Regions from separate parts of the Homo sapiens genome. Here all the other regions are linked to region 2. The links are contacts of gene promoters, found by promoter capture Hi-C in blood cells and fetal thymus (Javierre and others, 2016). All regions are on one chromosome and are shown on one strand. The core of a region is centred on a gene start or on the middle of the fragment in contact, and the rest is flanking DNA. Distances in the headings are between cores, read along the strand shown. Region 1 overlaps FAM111A (FAM111 trypsin like peptidase A). Region 2 holds the start of OR5A2 (olfactory receptor family 5 subfamily A member 2). Region 3 has its middle 11 kb from the start of FAM111A-DT. Region 4 overlaps LOC105369315 (a long non-coding RNA gene). Region 5 has its middle 6.8 kb from the start of GLYATL1-AS1.

The links. The method cuts DNA at HindIII sites, captures the fragments that hold promoters and counts their contacts. A CHiCAGO score of 5 or more calls a contact.
Region 1: a contact is called between a fragment that was not itself captured here and the fragment with the promoter of OR5A2 in region 2, in 7 of 17 cell types (monocytes, M1 macrophages, naive B cells and 4 more). The highest score is 17.1, in monocytes.
Region 3: a contact is called between a fragment that was not itself captured here and the fragment with the promoter of OR5A2 in region 2, in 4 of 17 cell types (M1 macrophages, monocytes, naive B cells and 1 more). The highest score is 10.6, in M1 macrophages.
Region 4: a fragment that was not itself captured here is called in contact with the fragment with the promoter of OR5A2 in region 2 in 1 of 17 cell types (M1 macrophages); the score reaches 5.5 in M1 macrophages.
Region 5: a fragment that was not itself captured here is called in contact with the fragment with the promoter of OR5A2 in region 2 in 1 of 17 cell types (M1 macrophages); the score reaches 5.0 in M1 macrophages.

Annotation. Positions count from the first base shown.
Region 1 is chr11:59,152,177-59,155,512 of GRCh38, forward strand. It overlaps FAM111A (FAM111 trypsin like peptidase A), which reads left to right. Exons shown (of 6, transcript NM_001312909.2): 6 at 1-2,863. The coding sequence ends at 1,328. Among named protein-coding and RNA genes, the nearest start is that of FAM111A, 11 kb to the left of the region's middle. RefSeq lists an enhancer at 407-536. The HindIII fragment of the contact is 3,767 bases long and covers 100-3,336 here.
Region 2 is chr11:59,424,727-59,427,815 of GRCh38, forward strand. OR5A2 (olfactory receptor family 5 subfamily A member 2) reads right to left here and starts at 1,687. Exons shown (of 2, transcript NM_001001954.2): 1 at 1,445-1,687. The HindIII fragment of the contact is 12,260 bases long and covers 1-3,089 here.
Region 3 is chr11:59,130,244-59,133,709 of GRCh38, forward strand. No RefSeq gene overlaps it. Among named protein-coding and RNA genes, the nearest start is that of FAM111A-DT, 11 kb to the right of the region's middle. The HindIII fragment of the contact is 174 bases long and covers 1,758-1,931 here.
Region 4 is chr11:59,101,552-59,104,688 of GRCh38, forward strand. LOC105369315 (a long non-coding RNA gene) reads right to left here. Exons shown (of 3, transcript XR_007062680.1): 1 at 1-3,137. Among named protein-coding and RNA genes, the nearest start is that of FAM111B, 4.1 kb to the right of the region's middle. RefSeq lists enhancers at 969-1,469, 980-1,099. The HindIII fragment of the contact is 1,355 bases long and covers 715-2,069 here.
Region 5 is chr11:59,063,535-59,066,901 of GRCh38, forward strand. No RefSeq gene overlaps it. Among named protein-coding and RNA genes, the nearest start is that of GLYATL1-AS1, 6.8 kb to the left of the region's middle. The HindIII fragment of the contact is 474 bases long and covers 1,586-2,059 here.

The DNA.
Region 1 (3,336 bases), core at 733-3,232, 270 kb before region 2:
TATTTGGCAGGCAGGACAAAGCATCGACTGAATGTGTCAAATTTTACATTCATGCAATTGGAATTGGGAAGTGTAAAAGAAGGATTGTTAAATGTGGGAAGCTTCACAAAAAGGGGCGCAAACTCTGTGTTTATGCTTTCAAAGGAGAAACCATCAAGGATGCACTGTGCAAGGATGGCAGATTTCTTTCCTTTCTGGAGAATGATGATTGGAAACTCATTGAAAACAATGACACCATTTTAGAAAGCACCCAGCCAGTTGATGAATTAGAAGGCAGATACTTTCAGGTTGAGGTTGAGAAAAGAATGGTCCCCAGTGCAGCAGCTTCTCAGAATCCTGAGTCAGAGAAAAGAAACACCTGTGTGTTGAGAGAACAAATCGTGGCTCAGTACCCCAGTTTGAAAAGAGAAAGTGAAAAAATCATTGAAAACTTCAAGAAAAAAATGAAAGTAAAAAATGGGGAAACATTATTTGAATTGCATAGAACAACGTTTGGGAAAGTAACAAAAAATTCTTCTTCGATTAAAGTAGTGAAACTTCTTGTACGTCTCAGTGACTCAGTTGGGTACTTATTCTGGGACAGTGCAACTACGGGTTACGCCACCTGCTTTGTTTTTAAAGGATTGTTCATTTTAACTTGTCGGCATGTAATAGATAGCATTGTGGGAGACGGAATAGAGCCAAGTAAGTGGGCAACCATAATTGGTCAATGTGTAAGGGTGACATTTGGTTATGAAGAGCTAAAAGACAAGGAAACAAACTACTTTTTTGTTGAACCTTGGTTTGAGATACATAATGAAGAGCTTGACTATGCTGTCCTGAAACTGAAGGAAAATGGACAACAAGTACCTATGGAACTATATAATGGAATTACTCCTGTGCCACTTAGTGGGTTGATACATATTATTGGCCATCCATATGGAGAAAAAAAGCAGATTGATGCTTGTGCTGTGATCCCTCAGGGTCAGCGAGCAAAGAAATGTCAGGAACGTGTTCAGTCTAAAAAAGCAGAAAGTCCAGAGTATGTCCATATGTATACTCAAAGAAGTTTCCAGAAAATAGTTCACAACCCTGATGTGATTACCTATGACACTGAATTTTTCTTTGGGGCTTCCGGCTCCCCTGTGTTTGATTCAAAAGGTTCATTGGTGGCCATGCATGCTGCTGGCTTTGCTTATACTTACCAAAATGAGACTCGTAGTATCATTGAGTTTGGCTCTACCATGGAATCCATCCTCCTTGATATTAAGCAAAGACATAAACCATGGTATGAAGAAGTATTTGTAAATCAGCAGGATGTAGAAATGATGAGTGATGAGGACTTGTGAGAATTCAGTCTACTGGATTTAAGGGAATGGCTTATGGAGTTGTTATTTCATAGGCATTGAAAATGGTTTTCTAAACTCCAAAATGGTCATCTTATCAATAATAATAATATTGACCATTTCCTATCTGCCAGGCATTTTTCTAAGCACATGAAGAAATTAGTCCTAACAACACTATGAGATGGACTATAACTTGCCCAAATTTTTTTTTTTTTTTTGAGACTGAGTCTCACTCTGTCGCCTGGGCTGGAGTACAGTGGTGCGATCTCAGCTCACTGCAACTTCCACCTCCCAGGTTCAAGCGATTCTTATGCCTCAGTCTCCTGAGCAGCTGGGATTACAGGCAAACGCCACCACACCCAGCTAAATTTTTTTTTTTTTTTTTGTATTTTTAGTAGAGACAGGGTTTCACCATGTTGGTCAGGCGGGTCTCGAACTCCTGACCTCGTGATCCACCTGCCTCGGCCTTCCAAAGTGCTGGGATTACAAGTTTGAGCCACTGCACCTGGCTAACTTGCCCTATTTTAAAGTCAAGCAATGGGAAGAATAACAAGATTATATAGTAATCAGTTTCATGACACTAAAAGTCATATAGTCATAGGGTTTTTTCATCTTTCATATCTTTGCCTAAATTCATTTGCTACAGTGCAGGAACCAAAACTTGTTCATCTCATGATTCCCTACATCTGACATAAGGAAAGTAAGTGCTCAGAAAAATGTGCAGGTCAATAAGTTGCAAAAGTTGGGGCTGCAATTAATGCTAACATAAGAGCTAAATGCTTGATTAGAAATGATCTCAAAACCTTTTAGAATTTCCAAAATCTTCATATTACTGAAACTGTCGGAATATATGGGTCTTGAAATTCAGAAGATGATAGTCACTCTTCCCATATTTATAGGCTATTAAGGCAAGGGATATCTTAAACATCATATTACTTTATTTAGATTTCTACTACTCCAATTATTAATGTTATGTATTTCTCATTGTTTTACTTCTTCATGGTATTATGAAGACTATATAGATGATTCAACCAAGCCTGCAAATCTCCCTCTTGTGGAATTCCACTGGACCCAATCTGTTTTCCATTTCCATTGCAATACTACTAAAGCCATACAATATCAAGCACCCTCCCTCTAGGTCCAGGGACTATCACAGAAGAAGCAGGCATGTAAGATTTTAAGGACTGGTTTCGAGGGGTCGAGTGTAGGAAAACAGCCTGTTGCATTGTAAGAGTGATGTCATCTTGAAGAGCAGCTGGCATGATGACTGCTGTTTGACTCCTGCATACCAAGATATTCTGCAGCAATGTCTTTAAACAGTGCCGGTAGTACAGATAACCCCTCATAAAGATGCTTATCTAACCTCCCCAGTGTTCAGGTGTTTCACAAGAAAGTCTGAGATATGACTAGCTACACGTTTTGCCAAAAATGCTTGTTATATAAAGGGTACTTTTGGGAGGGTGAGTGCCGCCATTTAGTGGCTGCTAGAAACATTGCTTCTGTTTGTAAGTTCCTATTAAATGTTTCTTTCTGAGAAACCGTATTTGTCAGCCTCTTTCTTTGGCCTCTCAGCTTCTTTGGTCTTTGGGGGTAGGTTGGGGTAGGTTTGCATTGACCTGCTCACCGTGAAACACCTGGTGACTTTTAATGAAGAATGGCATTAGAAACCAAGATCTAGGCACTAGATATGCTCATTGCTGGTGGCGTGTTGTTTCTTTTAGGCCCCCTCAGCTGACAGGGCAAAGAAATATTTGTGTGTATATTTACCCACATATGTATATGTACACATATGTATATATGCCTTGCTTATCTGTAAATTCCAACTCCAAACAGTTGGAAGCGTGATGCCTGCCATCCCTCACACATTCACTTAATTGCTTAATCCAAGTATACATATATAGCAGTGTCAGAATTGTTAACCTCTACCTCAATGGGAAATAATTTTATCAACTAGAATACAGTGCCTATGTGCAATTTCCCTGCTTTTAGTCTTATATATTCCATTCATTCC
Region 2 (3,089 bases), core at 437-2,936:
ATGCATGTTTGCACCCAATGGTAACTGTGGTTCTGTGTCACTTATCATATTAAAAACTGCTCCTAGCTTTGTGTTTTTTACAAATTTCTAATCTCCCCTCAAATCACTGGTCAAGCAGTCAAAACCAAGACGAGCCTAGATTGATCTTCACTAAAACATCAATCTATTTAATCCTATCAAAAAGGAAGTAAGAGGAATTTGGTATCTCTTATCTTGGTGAAATCTTCCCTACCAGAATGTAAGTTACTCAAAGACAGGCAGGGAGTTTTGCCCATTCTGTTTCCTGATCTATCCTTGTAACCACCCAATGGGTTCACCTTGCCCACTGCCTAGACAGAGCTCATTTATCAAGACAGGGGAATTGCAATGGAGAAAGAGTAATTCAGGCAGAGCTGGTTGTGCAGGAGGACTGGAGTTTTATTATTACTCAAATTAGTCTCCCTGAGCATCAGGGATCAGAGTTTTTAAAGATAATTTGGCGAGTAGGGGCTTGGGAAGTGGGGAATGCTGATTGGTTAGGCTGGAGATGGAATCAAATGGGTCGAAGTGAGTTTTTCTTGCTGTCTTCTGTTCCTGGGTGGGATGGCAGAACTGGTTGAGCCAGTTAACGGGTCTGGGTGGTGTCAGCTGATCCATCTAGTGCAGGGTCTGCAAAATATCTCAAGCACTGATCTTAGGTTTTACAGTAGTGATGTTATCCCCGGGGCCAATTTGGGAAGGTTTATACTCTTGGAGTCAGAGGCTGCATGACCCCTAAACAGTAATTTCTAATCTTGCAGCTAATTTGTTAGTCCTGCAAAGACAGACTGGTCCCTAGGCAAAAGGGGGGTCTCTTCAGGAAAGAGCTGCTATTAATTTTGTTTCAGAGTCAAACCATGAACTGAATTCCTTCCCAAAGTTACTTCAGCTTATGCCCAAGAATGGACAAAGACAGCTTAAAGATTAGAAGCAAGATGGAGTCAGGTAGATATGATTTCTTTGACTGTCATAATTTCCTCAGTTATAATTTTGCAAAGACAGTTTTATCATAAGTACAAAGAACAGGGCCTGGGACATAGGTGCCCACTAAATATTTTGCTGAATAAATAGATTTTTTTCCACCACTTATCCTCAGAGTTTACCAGAAGGGTTTGGCCTATGACTTACTATATTTGGTGTGTTACTATTATAAGAACAAAACACATAATATATAATTAATCACAAACAATAATCATATAACGATCATAATATAATAATATAATCAAACACTTATTTAGTACTTATTGTGTGCGAGGTACTGTTTGAAAGACTTGATTTTTATAAACCCATTTAATTCTCCTAATAGACTCAAGAAGTGGCAGCGTTTCTCGCCCCATTTTACAAATAAAAGGTAGAATAGGCTGTAAATGCATAGTTGTGATTTGCTGCTGAATGGATGAGGTAGGAGGGAATGAGCTGGACTTACTGGATTGCATTGGGCAGAAGGGTCCTGCAATCTTGTGCTACAAGAGAAGAAATATTGATTGCTTTGTTGCCATAACATCTTTTGCAAACCAGATCATCTGCATTTCCCACTGCTCCATGGCTGGTTTCTCGTTCCATCAATTTCTTATGCTTTGGCCTCATGTAAATAGTAAACCATGCTTCTGGAATCTCCGCTCCTTTGTTAACAAGTCTTCCAAATAAATGGGCTGTGGGAGTTCATTATTTTAATGGGCAGAGGTAGCCACATTCTTTCCCCAAGAGGCTGCCCTCTGCCACTCACTCCAGGGTCCAACATAAAAAGCCCAGCAATCATTAGAGCTAAACATTTCTGAGCACTAATTGTTCCCTGGAGTGGTGGCGAAAAGAGCCAACCGCTCATCACGGGAGCCTCTTTCCATCCCCCTACCTATTCTTCTCTGAGCTTTCCCTGATTTGAGTCCAGGAAGACTCCCTGCTGGGTTAGTAGATGCCTTTTGCTTAAAAGAAATTTCATCAGAAGTAAATCACACATAAACACACCAAGCCTTGTGCTGAAATATACTGGTTAGAAACACATGTTTCCAACTCTGAGAATTGGGTTTAAATTCTGGCTCTGCCCTTTTATCAATATAAACATGTTCAATGTTGTTTAATGTCTTAAACTTATCAACTCCCTCATTTGTAAAACTGGTGTAACAAGAATACCTACCTCAACAGAGTTGTGATAATTAAATAAGCTGTGAATAAGAAAGGCTTAGCACAGTGCCTAACAAACAGAAATCACTCAATGAATGTAAACTAATGATGTCATTAACTCTGTTTCTTGGGTCATGGCCAAAAATATGTCTTTCCTTTCTATCTTTTTATTGTGACTTATTTGCATCACGATGAAAAGATTTCTTTTCTCTTTATTTTTTTTAATGAGGCTGGATGGGATGAAGGGCTTGATGGGGCTCTTCTTTTCTCTTTTTAATATTTTGGGTGCTACTACCAGCAATGCCACTACCTGGATGAGTCACTGTGGGCAAGTCAATTAACCCCTCCAGCCTGAGTGAATTGGGCTCACTCTCCAAGAATTCCTCCAGCCCTGAAAGTCTGATGTTTCAAAACATTGATTTCCTGTTTTTTTAAATGTTTTCTTCAGAAATAAAGTTTATAAAAAATGAATTCATCTATTTCATGGAGACTAAGTCAGCAATCCTCAGTCTCAAAAGAAAAAAAATTAAATGAGAGAAATGTCTTCTATATAAAGGGGTATAATTACTGAGACTCTTGACTTACAAGGTAACAGGCTTAATTTAGGGAAGAAATTTAGCAACTAAGACTGTTGACAGAAACGGAGGTAAATGTCTTCAAGAATCAACTGTGAACATGAAAAGGCAAGGAAGTCCATCCTCAAAAGAAACATTCTTATCTAAGTTTGAAGATAAACTGTCCTAGGAAATTCTGATGCTGAAAGAGTAAACCCCAACTAACTATGAAAGAGTTTGATACTGAGTTAAGATCTGGGAAATTTAAAAGGTAGATCTCACAGTTATGAAGGATACATTTTTCTAGGATTAGAAAAGGCTGATAAGGGCCGGGCGCGGTGGCTCATGCCTGTAATCCCAGCACTTTGGGAGGCCGAGGCGGGCAGATCACGAGGT
Region 3 (3,466 bases), core at 595-3,094, 290 kb before region 2:
TAACCGTGTAACCAGGCTTGTGATGGGAGGAGCTGCCACTAAGTTCTCTGACATGCCCTGGAGACATTTTCCCCATTGTCTTGGCAATTAAGATTTGGCTTCTCGTTACTTATGCAAATTTCTGTAGCTAGCTTGAGTTTCTTCCCAGAAAATGGGTTTTTCTTTTCTACCATATGGTCAGGCTGCAAATTTTCCAGACTTTTACATTCTCCTTCCCTTTAAACATATGTTCCAATTTCAAATAATCTCTCTCAAGTTCTGATATGGTTTGGTTGTGTCCCCACCCAAATCTCATCTTGAACTGTAGCTCCCATAATCCCCACATGTCCTGGGAGGGACCCAGTGGGTGGTAATTGAATCACGGGGATGAGTTTTTTCTATGCTGTTCTTGCAATAGTGAATAAGTCTCACAAGATCTGATAGTTATATAGGAGAGTTCCCCTACACATGCTCCCTCTTGCCTGCTGCCATGTAAGATGTGCCTTTGCTCCTCTTTCATCTTCCACCATGATTGTGAGTCCTCCCCACCCATGTAGAACTCTGAGTCCATTAAACCCCTTTTTCTTTATAAATTACCCAGTCTCAGGTATTTCTTCATAGTAGTATGAAAATGGACTAATACAGTAAATTGGTATCACAGAGAGTGGGGTGCTGCTGTAAACATACCTGAAAATGTGGAAGCAACTTTGGAACTGGGTAACAGGCAGAGGTTGGAAAAGGTTAGGGGGCTCAGAAGAAGACAGGAAAATGTGGGAAAGTTTGGAACTTCATAGAGACTTGTCGAATGCCTTTGCCCAAAATGTGATAGTGATACCGACAATAAATTCCAGGCTGACATGGTCTCAGACAGAGATGAGGAACTTGGGCACTGGGGCAAAGGTCATTCTTGCTATGCTTTAGCAAAGAGGCTGGTGGCATTTTGCCCCACCCTAGAGATCTGTGGAACTTTGAACTTGAGAGAGATGATTTAGGGTATCTGGAAGAAGAAATTTCTAAGCACCAAAGCATTCAAGATGTGACTTGGGTACTCTTAAAAGCATTCAGTTTTAGTCATTCACAAAGATATCATTTGGAATTGGAACTTATGTTTAAAAGGGAAGCAGATCATAAAAGTTCAGAAAATTTGCAGCCCGTCGATGTGATAGAAGATAAAACCTCATTTTCTGAGGGTAAATTTAAGCCAGCTGCAGAAATCTGCATAAGTAACAAGGAGCCAAATGTTAATCACCAAGACAATGGGGAAAATGTCTCCAGAGCATGCCAGAGGTCTGCATGACAGCCCCTCCCATCACAGGCCCAGAGGCCTAGAAGGAAAAAGTGGTTTCATGGGCTAAACCCCAGGTCTTGCTGCTTTGTGCAGTCTTAGAACTTGGTGCCCTGTGTCCCAGCTGTGGCTAAAAGGGGCCAAGATATAGCTCAGGCCATTGACTCAGAGGGTGCAAGCCCCAAGCCTTGGTGCCTTACACATGGTGTTGGGCCTGCAGGTGAACAGAAGTAAAGAATTGAGGTTTGGGAACCTCCACCTAGATTTCACAGGATGTATGGAAACGCCTGGATATCCAGGCAGAAGTTTGCTGCAGGGGTGGAGCCCTCATGGAGAACCTCTGCTAGGGCAGTGCAGAAGGGAAATGTGAGGTGGTAGCCCCCACAGAGAGTCCCCCCGAGACACTGCCTAGTGTAGCTGTGAGAAGAGGGCCACCATCCTCCAAACGCCAGAATGGTAAATCCACCAACAGCTTGCACCATGCTCCTGGAAAAGCTTCATGCCAGACTGTGAGTTTGCCCAATGTCCATTTTCATGCCAGCTCATGAAAGCAGCCGGGGAAGGGGGAGTGGGCTGTACCCTGCAAAGCCACAGGGGCAGAGCTGCCCAGGACCATGGGAACCCACCTCTTGCATCAGTGTGACCTGGATGTGAGGCATATAGTCAAAGCTTATTTTGGAGCTTTAAGATTTGACTGCCCTGCTGGATTTTGGACTTGCATGGGGGCTGTGGCCCTTTTGTTTTGGCAATTTATCCCATTTGGAATGGGTATATTTACCCAAAGCCTCTACCCCCATTATATCTAGGAAGTAACTGACTTGCTTTTGATTTTACAGGCTCATAGGTGGAAGGGACTTGCCTTGTCTCAGATGAGACTCTGGATTTGGACTTTTGTATTAATGCTGCAATTAGTTAAGACTTTGGGAGACGGTTGGAAGGGGATGATTGTGTTTCGAATTGTAAGGACATGAGATTTGGGAGGGACCAGGGGTGGAATTATATGGTGTGGCTCTGTCCCCACCCAAATCTCATCTTGAATTGTAGCTCCCATAATCCCCATATGTCCTGGGAGGGACCCAGTGGGAGGTAATTGAATCATGGGGGTGGGTTTTTCCTGTGCTGTTCTTGTGATAGTGAATAAGTCTCACAAGACCTGATGGTTTTATAAAGGGCAGTTCCCCTGCACATGCTCTGTTGACTGCCATCATGTAAGACACGGCTTTCCTCCTCCTTCACCTTCCACCATGATTGTGAGGCCTCCTCTGCCATGTGGAACTGTGAGTACATTAAACCTCTTTTTCTTTATAAATTACTCAATCTCAGGTACTTCTTCATAGCAGTATGAAAATGGACTAATAAAAGTTCAAAGTTCCACCGATCTCTAGGTCAGGGGTAAAATGCCTCCAGTCTCTTTGCTAAAGCATAGCAAGAGTGACATTTGCTCCAGTTTCAAATAAGTTCCTCATCTCCATATAAGAACACCTCAGCCTGTACTTCGTTGTCCATATCACTCTCAGCATCTTGGTCAAAACCATTCAGCAAGTCTCTAGGAAGTTCCACACTTTCCCACATCTTCCTGTCTTCTGAGCCCTCCAAACTGTCCCAACTTCTTCCTGTTACCCAGTTCCGAAGTGGTTTCCACATTTTTAAGTATCTTTGTGGCAGTGCCCCAAACTCCTGGTACCAATTTCCTGTATTAATCTGTTTTTACACTGCTACAAAGAAATACCCAAAACTGGGTAATTTATAAAGGAAAGAGGTTTAATTCACTCACAGTTCCACATGGCTGGGGGGCCTCAGGAAACTTACAATCATGGAATTAGGGGAAGAAAATATGTCCTTCTTCACAGGGTGGCAGGAGAGATAAAAGTGTAGTGGGAATAGCCCCTTATAAAACCATCATATCTTATGAGAACTCACTATCATGAGAACAGCATGGGCAAAACTGTCCCCATGATCCAATCACCTCCCACCAGATTCCCCCCTTGACACTTGGGGGTTATTGGGATTAAAATTCAAGATGAGATTTGGGTGGGGACACAGAGCCAAACCATATCAGTATGGCTCTTACCTTAGGGAAACCTGACAGCTTGGAAGAGATGGCTGAGTAGCTGACCAGACATTTGAGTTCGAATCGTGAAGCTGAGGGAGGAAAAAGTCAGAGTTTAAAGCCTGTCAGCTAGTAGGAAACCTAATAAACAC
Region 4 (3,137 bases), core at 142-2,641, 320 kb before region 2:
ACTTTACATCAGAGTCCCTTTTGTATTTTTAGTATCATCCAGCCCCACGCCTTGCAGATGAGCCCCTAAGAAATGAATGGGTGAATGAATGTGTGGACAGCGGGATGGATCAGTGAGTGAGGAGCAGTGATTCGCAGGACCTGCATGCATTGAAATCCTGCCAAAGCAGCCTCTGCAAAATAAAAGACCTTAGGCTTTGGTTTCTGACACAAGTTAAAATTATCCAAGGACTGTCCTTGGGCCACTTAGTTGAGGTTTCCTAATCTGTGAAACAGAAAGTGAATTCAATAGAAAGATGATTCAGACAAACTTACTGAAGGTGCCAAAGCAGGATGCCTGGCATTGAGGGACGCTTCACACCTGTTATCTCTCTCCCTATTCTCTCTTCACCCCTATTCCCGCCCGGCAGCTCTCCGCTGTCAGCGCCAGAAATACTTACCTGCTGAGAAAAGGAAAAGCACAACACTGACTTTACCCCGCGACGCTTTTAAAAAATCCAAAATACCCAGCGCGATGGGGAGTAGGTTTCCCTAAAGACAGGTGGAGCAGCCATAGTTAACTTAGAGGAAGGTGAATTGACAAAGAGGGTTGAGCCACTACGAGTGGGAGTTACCTTGGACTAACAGTTGTATCTTCAGCGAGCACATGTCCTGGAATCTCCCACGCCCATCCCTTTTTTTAGCGCCACAAATGCAGCCTCCTAAGAGAATGGGAAGCTTGGGAGTCAGAGAACCGAAGATTGAGCTACCATTGACCTTAATGGATGTCAGTCTTCACTTGTCGCTTTTTTTCCTTCCTCGCCTCCTTGCCCCGCCCTATCCCTGTAGGCGCGTTCTCCCGCGACATCAAATGGCAGCATGCGGGACTACACCAAATGCGGAAAGGCGCCTTCCCCTGCCCTGAGTATCTGCAAACCCGGGGCTGGGCTGGGTTTTTAAGGGCTGGGCTCGCGTGCGAGGAGCGGTGCTAAAAAGGGGCTGCCTGCGCAGATGTCATTCCCACAAGATGCAAGTAAAGAAGCACCGCGGACGCCCGGGGAGGGTCACAGAGCGACAGGAGGGGTTGTTGACCAGGTGACTGGCCTCACTTCTGACAAATGCAAATTACCCAGCCACAGTCCAACCAAGGGTATCAAAACAGGATCTCTGCAGATGGAGCTCAGTGTTATGTGTTTTGGACAGCTCGCAATAAGATTTTCATGCATCATAAACTTTCCCTGAGTATCTCAGCCAGTTTTGTGGATGCCGAGGTTTGTTCAAAGCTGCAGATTACTGGGCCTCACCCCAGACCTACTCTACTTAAATATAGTGGGGTTCCCATAATCCCCATTTTACAAAACCTATCCAAGTTAAAGTACAGAGAATCACAAACTGGAAGAACTCCTTAATTTACAAATAAGGAATGGAGACCCCCCCCCACCAAGAGAGAACGGAATTTGCCCAAGGTCCCCCTGAAAGAGCCTAAGAAAACGTGAGGCTCTAAGGTTAAAATCCTACCTGACACCCTTTCCTTTCCCCAACTAGTCCTGTGACCTCTAGCAAACTATCCTGTCCTGATCTGTGAAATGGGAGCAACAGTCCCACCTACCCCAACTGGTGACTGCGAATATTAAATGGGGCCACAATGAGTCAACTCCAAGCACCACCCCACTGGAAGTTGAGGTTGAACTAATTCTAGATCGCCCTACCCCCATTCATCTCCCAGTACCATTGTATGACCGTGGAGGTGAAACCATCCAGCCGCCTGTTGGTCCCAAACCATGTTCACCTCCACCCGTGGCTCAGTGACTATTTCTTTTCTTGAAGAGAGAGAGAGGCTCCTTGGAGCCTCTGGAGTCTGGAGGGGAATGTTACCTTCCCCATGCCTGCATTGTCTTCCCAAGATAGGATGGACTATGGGGTCTCCATGAGGTTAGCTGCTGGGGCATCAAGGCTAGCTCCTAAGTGGTTGCTGGAGGCTTAGAGACCCCACTCCAGCTCTCTCTCAAATGGGGGCAGCTTGTTTGCAGCAGTGAGTGAGGTGGGCCAACTATGAACCCATGGGAGGAGAGGAAAAGACCATCCCATCTAAGCTTTTACATACCCCATTGCAAGCTCCAGAATGTGGTGCCCAGGCCCATATCTATAACCCACCCCCAGAGGCCAATTCTCCTCAGCCTTTCCTGCCCTTTCTGCCGTTGTACAGCCAGTTTCCATGCTCTCTTCTATCAAACTCCTACTCATCTCTCAGCCATCTAGTCCAAATATAAATCTTTCTCTGTGATATACTCTCAAGGTAGAGGCAGTGGTGCCTTCCTCTGTATTCCGAGAACATGTCATCTGCACCTCTACATACAGACATCATCCTACTGGTAGTGTTCCAGAGCATCTTTTAGGGGTTCATGAAGGAATCACTCTTCGTAAACACTGGCCTTATTCCCTAACTTCACCAGACCTGACCTTAGTGCATGATCCATTCCCACCTCTCCCAACCACATGAGAGCCTTTTCCTCTTTATGGGTTTACAAAACACAAACTGACCCAACCACCAGTTACTGGCCAAAAGCATTCTTGTCACATTTATAATAAAATCCAGCCAACAGGATACTTTGTGCCAAGGGAATGTTCCTTTTCAGGGCAAACACTCTGTCCCCAGGGATGTTAGACAACTTCCATAGCCCCAGATAAGCATTAGCTAGAAGTGAGTTTTCTTTGGTGGCCCAACAGATTCCCTGAGCATCCCTACTCTGTCACTGATTCCAGTTGCAGTGGGATTGCATCAAAGCTCTCAGAGCACAGCTGCAAAGGGTAAAGCAAAGCTAGAGCTCTACTCTGGACCTATCACTCTAGACAGTTTCTCTGTGAGGGGCAGTTTTATACGTAAGGAAGAAATGGAAGATTACTCCCAAAATGGCCTCAGGGTACTTATCCCAATTGTGTGGTTCAGTTGCTACTCCAGTGATGAGCAAATAAACAGGAAATAGAAGCACAACTATTCCTAAGCTCAAGAAGCAGGGAAGCTCAGGAATTGGTGTGCAGCAGTGCTGCTTGGAGCGCCATTACAAAGGGACAAGCACGGTCCACTGGGAGGTAAAATTCAGGGAATCTAAGACACAGGGGGTATGGGAAACAAGGCAGGCTTTTGTATTTATCATTTGC
Region 5 (3,367 bases), core at 573-3,072, 360 kb before region 2:
CCGTGTGGACAGACTCTCCAGTTCTATGAGTGGTTTTTCTTTTCCCGGGTCGGACCTGGAGTTCTTAAGAGGATGGCTGACAAGGGCAGTAGGCAGAAGGACCTCAGCCCAAAGTCAAGGAGGTTTTGGATGGGGAGCTGGGCAGCCGCCCGTTGTAATTCCCTTCCCGTCTCAGCTTCAAAGGCCAAGAGTTGTACTCCTGAAAAGATACTTGGAGATCATCTGGGTGTTCCTGAATCTCAAGAGGGTCGTTTGACCCTGGTGGGTCCTTTCCCTACCCGGTGCCTTTCTCGCCCGTAGAAGGAGACCAGGTTCGGTTAAGCAGAGCAGAAACTATTCACTGATCAAGGAATGGAGTAGGAGAGCTCCTGCTCAAAGTGCCTGGGGTGTAGTGTGGGGGTGCTCCTTAAGGTCTTTTAGGGCACGTAGTTGGAAAGCAAGGATTCCTGGAAAGAGATGGGGCTTTCCAGAACCAGCTGAGTGTGGCAGTCTCCTATTTGCTGTTGCCGCCCAACACTACATGTGCCTAGCAAGCTGCATTTCTCCCGTAGGCACAGATTGAGGTATGGTAATTAGCAATTGAGGATTCAGGTTAGGGTAGCGCTTCTAAGTTCGTTTCCCATCTTGTAGCACGGTGGTTACTGACATCCAGTCTCTGTTTCTGTAAGCAAGCACAGCTTCAAGCACAGGTTACCTTAATTGGTTCTGGGGCTTTAGGAAAGCATTGAGGTCATCCTGCGGTGACAGAGGCAGCTGTTCAAAGAACTTGGTGCGAGTTTGAGGCAGGGGTTGTGGAGTGAGGCAGGTAAAAATGCAGATTCCATAGCCACACCCCGACATACTGAATCAGAGTCTGTGAGGGTGGGATCTGGAATCCTTTTTAAAAAGCTCAGAGGAACCAATTCACACGAACAATAAAAGTTTCATCTGAGCCAAAGACCTTAATCTAGAAATGAGAAAACGGGGATCCCCAAAAGGGTTACAGGGAGAGGGTTGGAGGAAAGTTAGACTATGACAGTTTTAGGGTGGTTCTTTCCTGGCCTTGGGAAGTTTTCTCAGCTGCTGCTCTGATCAGTACGCAGCTGAATGCTTTAGGGGAACCCTCTTCATATATCCGGAGTTCCCTCTCTGTGCAGGTCTCCCACCAGGGTCTGTGGCCCGTGACCTCTTGCCACCCTGGTCTCTCCGCTTTGTCTCCTCAAATCTAGAATTCCAACTGGCTTTGTCTTGCTGCCCTTCCTTGCGACACTGGCCTGGAATCCTTCAAGTTAGTCTGCTAGCGTGGATTGTAGGATGCATCTCAGTTGTCACTATCCTTAATTGCATGATGTCCAGTTCCTCGCAAAGCGTTGTTTCATATATTTTGCCCATTTTTGTTTTGTTTTGCTTTCAGACTAGGGGGAAATCCAGTCCCTGTTCTTCCATTTTGGCCAGAAATTCAAGGTAATGACTTTTAATATTTCTGACTACTAGTTCCATCATCTCTCTCACTTCTGGATCTGTCTCTATTCACTGATGTTCCTAGTCATTATGGGTCATATTTATCCACTTCTTAAATGCTTGCTGATTGTTTTATTAGATATCAAGCTTTGTTAATTTCACAACTTTGGGTGCCAGAAATTTTTACCTTCCCATCAATATTCTTGAACTTTATTTTAGTACCTTGATATTTTACATGGAAACCATTTTATAATTTCAAAGTTTGCTTTTATTTGTTAGGTGGGAGCAGAACTAGGGCTAATTTTGTCCCACTGTGGAAGAAATACCTTTCAGAGTAGTCTCTCTGATATTTCATGAATTGTGAAATTTTCTAGTCAGATTTTTGTGAACTGAATCTATTCCCTGTCCTGTATGAGCCTCAGAAATTGTTACATCTGCTCCTTTTGGGTACTTCTTTTTCCTGTTCCTTTTCAACAGCTTTATTCCACTCATGCATTGACCAAGCTGAAATCTCAAGGGATACCCACTGCAGATCTCTGATACTATGTGCTCCTGTGGCTCTCTTCTCCCTAGTACTCTGCCATACAAGCTCCAGTCAGCCTGGCCTCCCAAAACTCCAAGCTTGTCTTCTCAACTCAGGGAAACTGCTAGACTCTGCCTGTTCTCTTGCCTAAGATATGCCTTGGAAACTCCATACAGTAACCTAAATAGCCACAGGGCTTACCTCATATGATTTTCTTCTCAGATATCAGAGATGAGGTCCCACACAGCCTGATGTCCAATGATTGAGAGTTGTTATTTCACAGATCTTTCCTTTTTGGGTTTTTTTTAGACATTTCATGTGGCAGAATGAACTCAATCCTTGTTTCTCCATCTTATCCACTAGTAAATATTAGTTATATTCTCTTCGAATTCATCATGAATTCCATGAAGACTGAAGAAAACAAGTCACTTAGTGCCACAAAAGATGACCCGAGGACTAGACCTGAAGTTTCAAAGGTATATCTACTTTTTTACAACTCCTCAGAGGAGTGATAGTCTAACCATAGTGCCATATGAGGTTCTTGGAGATAAGTTCTTAAACAATGGTCGTTATAAGCCTTTCTCTTAGGTAGTTTAAAATATATTTGGGTAGCTCATACACATAAGTGCTTGTGGAAAGCATAATGATAGAGTATGAGTTAATAATGCTAAACGTGTCTTAAGACAACAAGATGACTAACAAATAATATAGACACTTAAAATCATGGAAAGTATAGACAGGCAAAAATAATTAGCTAATGTTTTCTGAGGAAACACTGTGTGCCTGGAATTGTGTCCCATCATATGGATTATCCCATTTAACAGTTAATAGAACTGTGCAGTAGTTATTATCATACTTATTTTACAAAAGAAGAAACTGAAGCTCAACTTGCTTATAGTTGCAGAAGTAACGGACTTCAAAGCAAGGATCTTAACCTAGGCAGTCAGACTACAGAGACTGGTTTTTGACCCACACTATTTTGCTCAAAATATGCAAAATGATAATACTAAATTGAGATATAAACAAGTGATTTTAGAGTACAGAGAGAAGAATACTTAATTCAGACTAAGGAAACTACAGCAGCATCATATGAGAAATGATTTATTAATGAAAAATAAATCTAAAATTGTCAAACTCATAGATGTAGAAGTGGTTGCTGGGCTGGGAAGAGAGAAAAATGGAAGTGTTAGTCAAGGGATACAAAGTTTCCTTACACAAGGTGAATAAGTTGTAGGGATCTGAACAGCATGAGTGCCAATAGTTAACACTATTGTGCACTCAAATTCTTGCTAAAATGATAGATTTTATGTTGTGTTCTTATTACAAAAATAATAAATAAGAGGGCAGGAAGAGACTTTGGGAGGTGATAGATAGGTCGATGTCATAGAATGTGGTGATCATGTA